2 separate regions of the Homo sapiens genome follow, and region 2 is linked to region 1. The links are contacts of gene promoters, found by promoter capture Hi-C in human tissues and cell types (Jung and others, 2019). All regions are on one chromosome and are shown on one strand. Each heading gives the region's core, a stretch centred on a gene start or on the middle of the fragment in contact. The rest is flanking DNA. Distances are from core to core; before and after follow the strand shown. Region 1 holds the start of TTLL3 (tubulin tyrosine ligase like 3). Region 2 overlaps CIDEC (cell death inducing DFFA like effector c).

Evidence for each region. The method cuts DNA at HindIII sites, captures the fragments that hold promoters and counts their contacts. A contact is called where the count stands out against the background at its distance.
Region 2: a contact is called between a fragment that was not itself captured here and the fragment with the promoter of TTLL3 in region 1, in 2 of the 25 tissues and cell types used here (IMR-90 fibroblasts and mesenchymal stem cells).

The regions. Positions count from the first base shown.
Region 1 is chr3:9,808,408-9,813,314 of GRCh38, forward strand. It overlaps TTLL3 (tubulin tyrosine ligase like 3), which reads left to right and starts at 1,855. Exons shown (of 14, transcript NM_001387446.1): 1 at 1,855-1,987; 2 at 2,214-2,302; 3 at 4,536-4,704; 4 at 4,841-4,907. The coding sequence starts at 2,255. ARPC4-TTLL3 (ARPC4-TTLL3 readthrough) reads left to right here. Exons shown (of 12, transcript NM_001198793.1): 5 at 4,536-4,704; 6 at 4,841-4,907. RefSeq lists an enhancer at 927-1,076 and a silencer at 1,557-2,036. The HindIII fragment of the contact is 8,240 bases long and covers 1-4,907 here.
Region 2 is chr3:9,862,637-9,868,293 of GRCh38, forward strand. It overlaps CIDEC (cell death inducing DFFA like effector c), which reads right to left. Exons shown (of 7, transcript NM_001321142.2): 7 at 4,078-4,660. The coding sequence ends at 4,498. Among named protein-coding and RNA genes, the nearest start is that of CIDEC, 15 kb to the right of the region's middle. RefSeq lists silencers at 49-343, 1,449-1,743. The HindIII fragment of the contact is 3,135 bases long and covers 1,432-4,566 here.

The sequences.
Region 1 (4,907 bases), core at 605-3,104:
CTCACTATGTTGCCTCGGCTGCCTTGGGTGATCCCCCCGCCTCAGCCTCCCAAAGTGCTATCATCTCCTTTATGACATTACCTCTGTGACCTACCTCGCCACCCCTCTGAATTAGGTGTTCCCTCCTCCAGGGCACATGGCTATGTTCTAGCTTTGCAGTGAATGTTAAAGGTGCTCACAGTGAAACTGGGTGACTAATAGGATATAGCAGCTGGTCACTCAACAACCCTCACAGGACAGCATTGCCTGGGTGAGCCAGCCACAAACCTCATTTGTCATGTATCTCTCTCCCAGGGTCCAAATTCCCTAAATCACCTTTCCTGGGGGGCATGCTTTTCGGGAAGTCCAGCCATCAGCTAAAGGGGAGTTGGGGTCAGCTGGACAGGAAGGTGGGGGATCCACCTTCACTCTTAAGAGCACATCTACCCAGTGACTGACAAAGCTGGGCTCTTACCAGGACACTCTTCGACTCTGCCTGCGGGGGCACTGCTAGAGTTTGCCTCTCAAACTGTCCCTGTGTGGTCCTTCTGTGACTGGCAGGCAACCTGAGTGATAACAGGTGTTTAAGAGACAGGCTTTGGAGTCAGACCTGGGTTCCAGTGCTGCCTCTGCTCTGTGATTTGAGGCAAATTGTTTAACATCTTGGAGCCTTACCTCCCCTGTGACTTTTGAGGATAATATTTTGCCAGTGCTTCCAAAAAGGTTGCTTACAGTCTTAGCCTGGGGGCCAGGCATAACTGTTGTGAACTATTACATTTCTTTCGCAGTTGACTCAAATGATTGTTTTTCCATTTCCAGTTTCTGGGGAGGGTGTGCTCTGCACCTTCTTGTTACCCCCATATGCTGCCCTCGCTAAGGACCTTACCCTAGGCCCATCTGCCAGGCCCAGCAGGTCTGATCTGGCCTCACCAGGCTCCAGCCACCCTGGCTGTCTTGTAGTTCGCACAGAGGTTCTTACCCTTCTCAGGGCTGTTGCTGGGACTGTCCCTTCCCTGAAGTGCAGTTCCTCCCCTTTCCCTGGTGACTCCTGACTCCTGGCATTTACACCTTCAGCTTAAATGCGCCACTTTATCTAAAATGCGCCCCCTTCCTGGTTTCACCTCTGCTTGTTCATTGCCCTTATTATACCTGTAAACTATTCTCTTCCTTTGTTACTTGCTTTTTATTCCCCTCACACTGGGCTTTTAGTAAGCTCCATGAGGTCAGGGGCCATTTGTTAGCGCCTATAAATACTGTGGAATCACTCAAACCCTAGGGCCGGTGGCACCAGGAAGTACTGGATAAGGAACCGCAACACTAACTAACTGGGGCTCAGTGCTCTCTTCCGCCTTCAGTGCCCTGCTCATCAAGGGTCTGGGTGAGGCCCCAGGTCATAAGGAAGCCCTCGCTCGACTGCCCCGGGGCCCATCGCAGCCCCCAACCAGCCCCGAGCGGTCTGATGGTGCCCAGGGAATGGTTTCCAAGGCAATAGCAAACGGGGCGGGGCTTGGAACGGAGGACAAGGCTCGAGCCTAGGCAGGAACTTCCCGGGAGAGGAGGCGGCGACGCGGAGGGGCGCGGGATCAGGGGCCCTGGGAGGGCGAGCGCGGCGAGGGGCGCATGCAGGGCCCCGACGCGCCACTGCTCCTGAGCGCGAGGGAGCTGGGGCCCGGGCGCCGGGGCTCGGCCTCCTGGTACCGCCAGGAGGGCGGCGCGGTGTGCAACTGGCTGCGGAAGCCGCAGCCGCTCGAGCCACGCACCAGTTTCCCCTCGGCGCGCCGCTCCGAGTTCCGTCCACCCAGGAGGCTGCCATGGGCCGGCCCTGCCTCCGCCCAGTCCGAGGAGGGTCACGCAGGCGGCAGATGCCAGGCGGGCAGCCCCGCCCCTGCGCGCCGCCTCAGCGGCGCCTTCAAGACGCTGGTCCCAGGCACCCACGCCCAGGGCGCCTCGGATACCCACCCCCTCGGCCCCCCGCACACCCCGGTCCTCGACCCCTCTCCGCAGGATGGTGAGGCCCGTGCGGCCCGCTCGCTCTGGCCTACAGCGGCTGCGAGGACGACAAGACGCTGGGGTGGAGGGACTGGGGGTCGGGAGAAGAGCGGCTGAGGGTGGGCATCTGGATGAAGGCAGGAGGAAGAAAAGAGGCGTGGCTATGGGCGGCCAGAAAAGATCCTAGGCCGAGACCCTAGGCCCAGCCTCAGTGTACCCCGCCCCTATTCCGCATCTTTCTGCAGGTTTCCCGGTCCTCTGGCGAGGATCCTCCAAGGCGTCTCACATGAACCGGCTCAGAAACGCCAAAATCTACGTGGAGAGAGCTGTCAAGGTCAGAGGAGGGGCAGGGGCGCTTAGAAAGGGCCCTGGGAGCGGCTCAGCCTGTCTCCCTGCGCTGTTTTCTTATATCCTTAAAAAACAAAAGCAAAAGAAAAAACAATAGCAAAAATCCTCAACCACCACACCCATCTTCAACTACCTCCCCGTTTACCCCTTCAGCACCAAACTTCTGGGCTCCCTCCACTCTGGTTCCCTGCGATGTCCCACTCTAATCAAGGTGCCTGGTGAGTTCCAGGGAGCCAAACCCAGCAGTGCCTTTCGGTCTTGATCTCGGTTGGGCACCCTGTATCTTTCGACACCGCTGCCCCACACACCCTTCCTCTTGGCTGTCTGACTGCACGCTCCTAGTTTTCCTTTCTCCCTCTTTGGCTGCTGCTTTTCAGCGGCCTTTAAAGGTTCCTCAGCCATTAGTGGCCCCCTGGCCCCTTCCCCAGGTCTGTCTCCTTTGGCTGTGTCCTTGGCTGAGTCCAGTCAGTGTGCTGCACCCTCTCCGTGCCCCTTCCAGCCCAGCCTCGAACTCCACATCCCGTAGATCTAGCCCCTACCTGTCATCTACACCCAGAAAACTTAACAAGCATTTCAAATTCATGTCCCAAACCAGACTTTGATCTTCCTGCCCAAACCTGTCGTCCTCCCCAGTCTCCAGTCTTTCCCATCTCTCAGTTCCTCACGCCAGAAATCTCATCTTTCTGTTTCTTCACCCACAGGTCTAATTCCATCAGCAAAACCACTTGTCATCTCCACCTCCAAAACGATTCTCAACTCTAGCACCTTCTCCCGTCTGTGTTGTAACCACCTTCATTTTAGTAATTGTGATTTCTCTCCTAGGCAAACTATGACAGCCTCCTAGCTGGTCTACCTCCATCCTGTCCCCTCATCTTTTTGTAATACAGCAGCAAGCCAAGCTTAGAAAGATTCCCTCAGTTAGCCTTTTTTGCTCATGACACTCTTAGTATGAAATCCAAGTCCGTTCCAAGGCCTGCAGGGCCTTCCACAGTCTGGCCACTGCCTACCTCCTCTGGGGCTTTCCCCATCATTTTCCATGTTCCACTCACTCTGGTCTCCCTTCAGTTCCTTCTGACCTCTCTCCAGCCTCAAGGCCTTTGCACATGCATTCCCCTCTGCCTGAACCGCCATTTCCCAGCTCTGTACATTCATGGCTTCCTTTCAACCTTCCCTGACCATGTATTTCTAAGTAGTTTCTCTGGATCCCATTAAGTATGCAGTTTCTGGAGCCAAACTGCCAGGATGTAAATCCCTGCTCTTTTGCTTAACCACTATGGGGCCTCAGGCACCCTGCTTAATTTCTCTATGCCTCTGTTTCATAGCCCGTAAAATGGAGATAACAGTATCTAATAAAAATGCATAGTATTGGCCAGACGCGGTGGCTTACACCTGTAATCCCAGCATTTTGGGAGGCCAAGTCAGGAGGATCACTTGAGGCCAGGAGTTGGAGACCAGCCTGGCCAACACAGTGAAGCCCAGTCTCTACCAAAAAATATAAAAATTATTTGGGCACCAGATGAGGTGGCTGACGCCTGTAATTTCAGCACTTTGGGAGGCCAAGGCGGGCCTTGGCCTGAGGCCAGGAGTTCAAGACCAGCGTGGCCAATATGGTGAAACCCTGTCTCTACTAAAAATACAAAAATTAGCCGGGCGCAGTGGCACACGCCTGTACTCCCAGCTACTGGGGAGGCTGAGGCAGGAGAATCGCTCGAACCCGGGAGGTGGAGGTTGCAGTGAGCCAAGATTGTGCCACTCCAGCCTGGGCAACAGAGCAAGACTCCGTCTCAAAAAAAAAAAATTATCTGGGCGTGGTGGCATACACCTGTAATCCCAGGTACTCAAGGAGACTGAGGCAAGAGAATCGCTTGAACCCAGGAGGAAGAGGGTGCAGTGAGCCGAGATTGTGCCACTACACTTCAGCCTGGGCAACAGAGTGAGACCCTGTCTCAAACAAAACAAAATAAAAACACACAGTATTGTTAGTAATGCATGTAAGTGCTCAGCATGTAGTAGGTCCTCAATAAATATTAGCCATTGCTATTATCATTATTACCATGCATATTTATTTCTCTACTTATTTATAGTCTGTTTATTTCTCCTAATGGAATATAAAAATTTCCTGATGGCAGAGTCCATAACTGTCTGGTTCACCTTTATATCCCCTATGTCTGGCACTTATGCAATACTTATTGAAGAAGTATCCTTCTCTCACATTGCAGCAGAAGAAGATCTTTACAATCCAAGGCTGCTACCCGGTGATCCGGTGTCTCTTGCGCCGGAGGGGCTGGGTGGAGAAGAAGATGGTCCATCGCTCAGGCCCCACCCTGCTGCCACCCCAGAAGGATCTGGATAGCTCAGCGATGGGTGACAGTGACACCACTGAGGATGGTGAGTGGTTCCTTCCCTTTCCACAGCTGTTGCTCCTGAGTCCTTTTCCTTTGGTTCCCACTGTCCCAGAGTTGAGGCCTTATGGGCTATGGGTCAGGGAGAGGAAACTCATCAGCTCTGGGCTCTGCATCCACAGAGGATGAAGATGAGGACGAGGAGTTCCAGCCATCACAGCTGTTCGACTTCGATGATTTACTGAAATT
Region 2 (5,657 bases), core at 1,749-4,248, 55 kb after region 1:
GAGTGACTCCCCGGCTTGGTCGGCGCTTTGAGGCCCCGGGGACCCAGCGGAGAGGGCTCGGGTGAGGCATCTGGAGGCGCTGAATGGGGCCGGGAGCCGCGGGACCCGCAGAGGGCGCCTGTCCGTGTGGGCGCAGCAGCGCCTAGAGGGAGGCGGCCCCGGCAGCCCGCAGGGGTCAGGCTCTGCTGGAGCAGGGGCGTCCCTGTCTCCGCTTCCCAGCGCAGGCTGGGTGGGGCCGATGGCCATTAAAGCCCCGCCCCCCGCGGCTCACCGCCGCCTGGCCCCGTCCCCGAGGCCAGAAAAGAGGAGACCCGAGGCCGTCAGACCGCCTGTCAAGGGCTGTCCTGGAGCCTGGCACCTTCCCCTCGCTCCCCGTCTGACCCCCAGAGGCCGTGCTGTCCAGGCTGACCCCGACTCTGAGCCATCGGGATGCCTGTCCACGCCTCCACTCCTGGGCCACTTCCCCGTGGGGCGAGCAGAAGGGCGGGCCGGGTGGGAATCTGTTGTACCCAGGGAAGGGAATTGCCAACAGGCCCAGAGAGTTTGAAGCCTGGGGTACTGTCACCAACAGGCCAGTAGCCTCGCAGCTGGGCCCTGCCCTAGAGTCTTCCTGCAGCAGGGCGCTTCTCCGGAGGAGCTGTGAATGTTTTCCCGGGTGGGGCTGAAGCCAGAGCCCAGAGGTTTGCCCCTGGGGCACGGATCCTCCAGGTCACTCGCCCCCCTACGGGCTGCAGTGAAGAAGGCTCTGAGGGGAGGATGGCCAGCGCCTCCCCTGCAAGGATAGGGGCCCCTGGGAACCCATTCCTGCTCTGGGGATTGCCTCCCTCCCCTACATCAGAGCCATCCACCGCAGAAGCTTGGCCAAGCTGACCACTCTGTCAGTGATCTCTGCCAGGGAGGCTGAAAGAACATCCAGCCCCACCCGTGGTCCCTTCCCGCCTCAGGCTATGTGACAGTATGACTCTCCACCTATTTCTTCGTTTCCACTGGAAACACTAGTAAAACAATTCCTCAGCCTCGACCCCAGGGAGCGGCCCCCACTAAACCAGCTGACGTGGGACCCCTGGGTCAATGCTGGCCAGGAGATGCGGCTGACATCAAAGACCCTGGGCCCCTGGGCCCCCTACAACCCTGGTCACGGTGGCCATGGGATTCCAGGCAGCACACATCTCAGAATCAGTATTTCCCCCACCCCACAAAAAATACATATATGGGTCGGGCGCGGTGGCTTGCGCCTGTAATCCCAGCACTTTGGGAGGCCGAGGCCGGCGGATCACGAGGTCAGGAGATCGACACCATCCTGGCTAACACGGTGAAACCCCGTCTCTACTAAAAATACAAAAAATTAGCTGGGCGTGGTGGCGGGTGCCTGTAGTCCCAGCTACTTGGGAGGCTGAGGCAGGAGAATGGCATGAACCCGGGAGGCGGAGCTTGCAGTGAGCCGAGATCACACTACTGCACTCCAGCCCAGGCGACAGAGTGAGACTGCGTCTCAAAAAAAAAAAAATTATATGCACAAATATGGGCATCGCTGGTAAGAAGAGTGGCAAAAACACAAGTGGTTCTCTTGTTTTGGGCTCAGACATGTGACTGTGGCATCACAGGCCCCCGGGATTTAGAATTCTTCTGAAAGGCATCCTGTGCACTCCCGAGCACCAGCTTGAACAGATGAAAAGGCTGAGCTGGAGGGGCTGGGACACAGTCCACCTTGACGACAGCTGCTCCTGGCTGTGCGGGGGGCCCCAGGAAAGGCCGTTCCCCCACTAGGACCGCCAGGCCCTACAGAGGCTCAAACTCCTTTGCTGTTTGGAATCTTCCCTCCCCAGCCCCCAAGCCTCATCAGAGGCTGCCTTTTCTGTTCACTGACCACAGCTGCTTTGACTCCATTAGCCTCGAGCTCCTGGAAGAAAAGAAAGAACCTTGTTTTCCCTGGGCTCAATGCCAAGAGACCATGGGCAGTTGCTCAAGATTCACTTGTGAAACTCCGGATCTCAGGAGGAGGGAAGCTTGGGACAAATACCGAGCCTCCCACCCCCACTCCAACTCTGTTACTGAGCACTTTACGGAAGGAGCAGGTAGGCCCCGCCACAGCTTCATCAAGGGTGGACTGGGATAGCTTCTGTGCTAATACAAACATCAGGCCTCCCTGCCAGACAGCCCACCCCATGGAGCCAGCCTGGCACCGGGCCAGCCTCCAGCCATAACTGCAAAAGAGCAGGAGAGCCCGGAATAGCAGGCCCTCTTCAGCGAGCTTCAGCCGCTTTGCCCATAGGCTGCAGGGTTTGGGTCCGCTGCCATAAATAGCTCCCAGACCATCTTTGGTAATATAGGCCTTTGCCTTAGTATTTACTACATCCAAATAGGCTTTATAGTAAGAGTAGTGAAACAATAGGTTTTGTTTTGTTTTTCGTTTTTTGTTTGTTTGTTTCTTTTTTGAGACGGAGTCTCACTCTGTCGTCCAGGCTAGAGTGCAATGGCACAATCTCGGCTCACTGCAACCTGCACCTCCCAGGTTCAAGCAATTCTCCTGCCTCAGCCCCCCGAGTAGCTGAGATTACAGGTGCCCACCACCATGCCCGGCCAATATTTTGTACTTTTAGTAGAGACGGGATTTGGCCATGTTGGCCAGGCTGCTCTCAAATGCCTGACCTTGTGATCCACCCGCCTTGGCCTCCCAAAGCGCTGGGATTACAGGCGTGAGCCACTGCGGCTGGCTGTGATAGAGTTTTTGAATCCTCTTTTTTTTTTTTCCCAGAGACAGGCTCTCACTCTGTTGCCCAGGCTGGAGTGCAGTGGCACAATCATAGCTCACTGCAGCCGCGACCTACTGGGCTCCAGTGAACCTCCTGCCTCAGGCTCCTGAGTAGCTGGGACTACAGCCACCATGCTCTGCTAATTTTTTTTTATTATCTAGTGTAGAGACAGGGTCTGGCTATGTTGCCCAGGCTGCTCTTGAACTCCTGGCCTCAAGCGATACTCCTGCCTCAGCCTCCCAAAGTGCCGGGATATCCGGCATGAGCCACTGCACCTGGCCAAGTTTTTAAATCTTTCAGTCACAGACTAAATAAAACAGTCACCTACAAGTTCTACAAGTTCAGCCTTTTTTTTTTTTTTTTGAGATGGAGTCTCGCTCTGTCACCCAGGCTGTAGTGCAGTGGCACGATCTTGGCTTACCACAACCTCTGCCTCCCAGGTTCAAGCGATTCTACTGCCTCAGCCTCCCAAACAGCTGGGAGTACAGGCGCCTGCCATGCTGGCCAGCTAATTTTTTTGTTTTTAATAGAAACCGGGTTTCACCATGTTGGTCAGGCTGGTCTTGAACTCCTGACCTCAGGTAATCTGCCTGGCTCGGCCTCCCAAAGTGCTGGGATTACGGCGTGAGCCACCATGCCCAGCCTAAGTTCAGCCTTTCATGCTTGTCTTGAGTTGTCCAATACTGGAAAATGCCAGCTCACACTGATGAGAAGCTCCTACTCTTTGGGGCTACCTATGAGCCCACTTTGAAATCCCGAGGTTGAAAGTCCTGAACATGAAAGATAAGCTGTCTGGCAAGTTAGGATGGGCATTGATGGAGAAATGCCTTACAGCTTGAGTAGTACTTTTTCACCTAACCACTTAAACGGTTATTATAAAATGGGACACTGAGAAATTAGAAGAGTGACTTAATCCCACCTGCTCAATTGAAGCTCCTCTGATAGGTGAATTTAATTAGGAAATTGTTACTTATGGTATCAATTACATGGTCAGCTCAAGCCTCAAATTCAGCTGACTTTAGTTTCAAAATCAACTGCAATTTTGTTTTTTAAGGAGCCTGGGGTCTTGCTATTGTGCTCCAGCCTGGCCTTGAACTCCTGGTCTCAAGGGATGCTTCCACCCCAGCTTGCTGAGTATCTGGGACTGCAGGCACGTGTCACTGTGCCCAGCTGTTTTTTTTTTTCTTCTTTGGTAGAAAAAGTGCCATTAGCTGTAATCCTACATTAAAGAGAATACTTTGACAATAGATTCGTCTCTTCCTTTAGCCCCCTCCAACCTTCCAGATAAAACCCCACCCCAAAGAACACAGGCAAAGAAGATACATCAGCCTCAATAATTTATTGCAAACTCCCTAATATCACATGCTAGTGCGCTTGCGAATTCACTCAGGAATGTTCCGGGATGGGGGCCAGAAGGTAGAGAGCACCATGAAAGTACAGCCTGCGAGGCCAGATTGCTAAGGGGCAGACTTCATGCCAATGGAGGGACAGACTTCAGGACCAGTCTGGATGGGCTAAGCTGCCTTGGGCAGGAAGGAGCTGGATCAGGCCAGGAGCTTGAGGTTCTCCTTTGGCCAACCCACCCCAGGTTTCCAGCTCCTCCTCCTCACTCAGGGTCCTGCGCGGTGAGGGAGGTGTGGGGAGGTTCGCGGCTCTACAGCTGCCAGGCTTGTGGGCACTACCAGTTAAGCGTGAGGCCCCCAGTCAGTCCTTCACTGGGGAAAGCTTCCAAGGACTTGGGCTTTCACTGCAGTATCTTCAGACAGGTCGGGATAAGGGATGAGGCCTTGCCCTTGGGGGGCTGCCCTTCCTCCGTAGCATCGAGGAGCTGCTGCAGGTAACAGGAGGTGCCAAGCAGTACGTGGCCTGTGGCCTGCATGCTGAAGAGGGCCCAGCGGAAAGCTTCCCTGGGTGGAATGAGAGGGCACGCAAGTCAAAACCACGAAGTAGGTCGGGCATGGCGTTCACGCCTGTAATCCTAGCACTTTGGGAGGCCATGGAGGGCGGGTAACCTGAGGTCAGGAGTTTGAGACTAGCATGGCCAACATGGCGAATCTCTGTCTCTACTAAAAATACAAAAACTAGGCAGGCATAGTGGTGGGTGACTGTAATCCCAGTTACTCCAGAGCCTGAGGCAGGAGAATCGCTTGAACCCAGGAGGCGGAGGTCACAGTGAGCCGAGGTGGCACCACTGCACTCCAGCCTGGGTGACAGAGCAAGATTCAGTCTCAAAAAACAATCAAACAAAAAACACAAGGCTGGGCTTGGTGGCTCATGCCTGTAATCCTATAACTTTAGGTGGCCGAGGTGGGTGGATCATTTGAGGTCAGGAGTTTGAGACCAGCCTGGCCAACATGGCGAAACCCCGTCTCTACTAAAAAATACAAAAAATTAGCCGGGCGTGGTGGCAGACACCTGTAATCTCAGCTACTCGGGAAGCTGAGGCACGAAAATCACTTGAACCTGGGAGACAGAGGTTGTAGTGAGCTGAGATTGTGCCACTGCACTCCAGCCTGGGTGACAGAGTGAGTCTCTGTCTCAAAAATAAATAAATACATAATAAATAAAAACAAGAGTGTACCCCCTCCCTGCACCCCCTTATTCCCATGCTGGCCTGGAAGGGATTGGTTTCATTATGTTTGTTTTCTTCATTAATAACATTTGAATACCACTGAGGTGGTAGCACTAAAAGCATTTCATCAATTCTAGAGCGATGTGCAAATAGGAACAGATGCTGCAGATGGGATCAAGATTAGTGCGAGGACCTGCAATTCCACCTTAACTGAGATGCCCGGAACCTCCCTACTTTCTCATGCAAAACCCCAGCTCATTTCATAAGGCTTTTATTTTTCTACTACTACTTTGGACCAACCAGATTAATCTCCATAACATGGTTCTGCACCT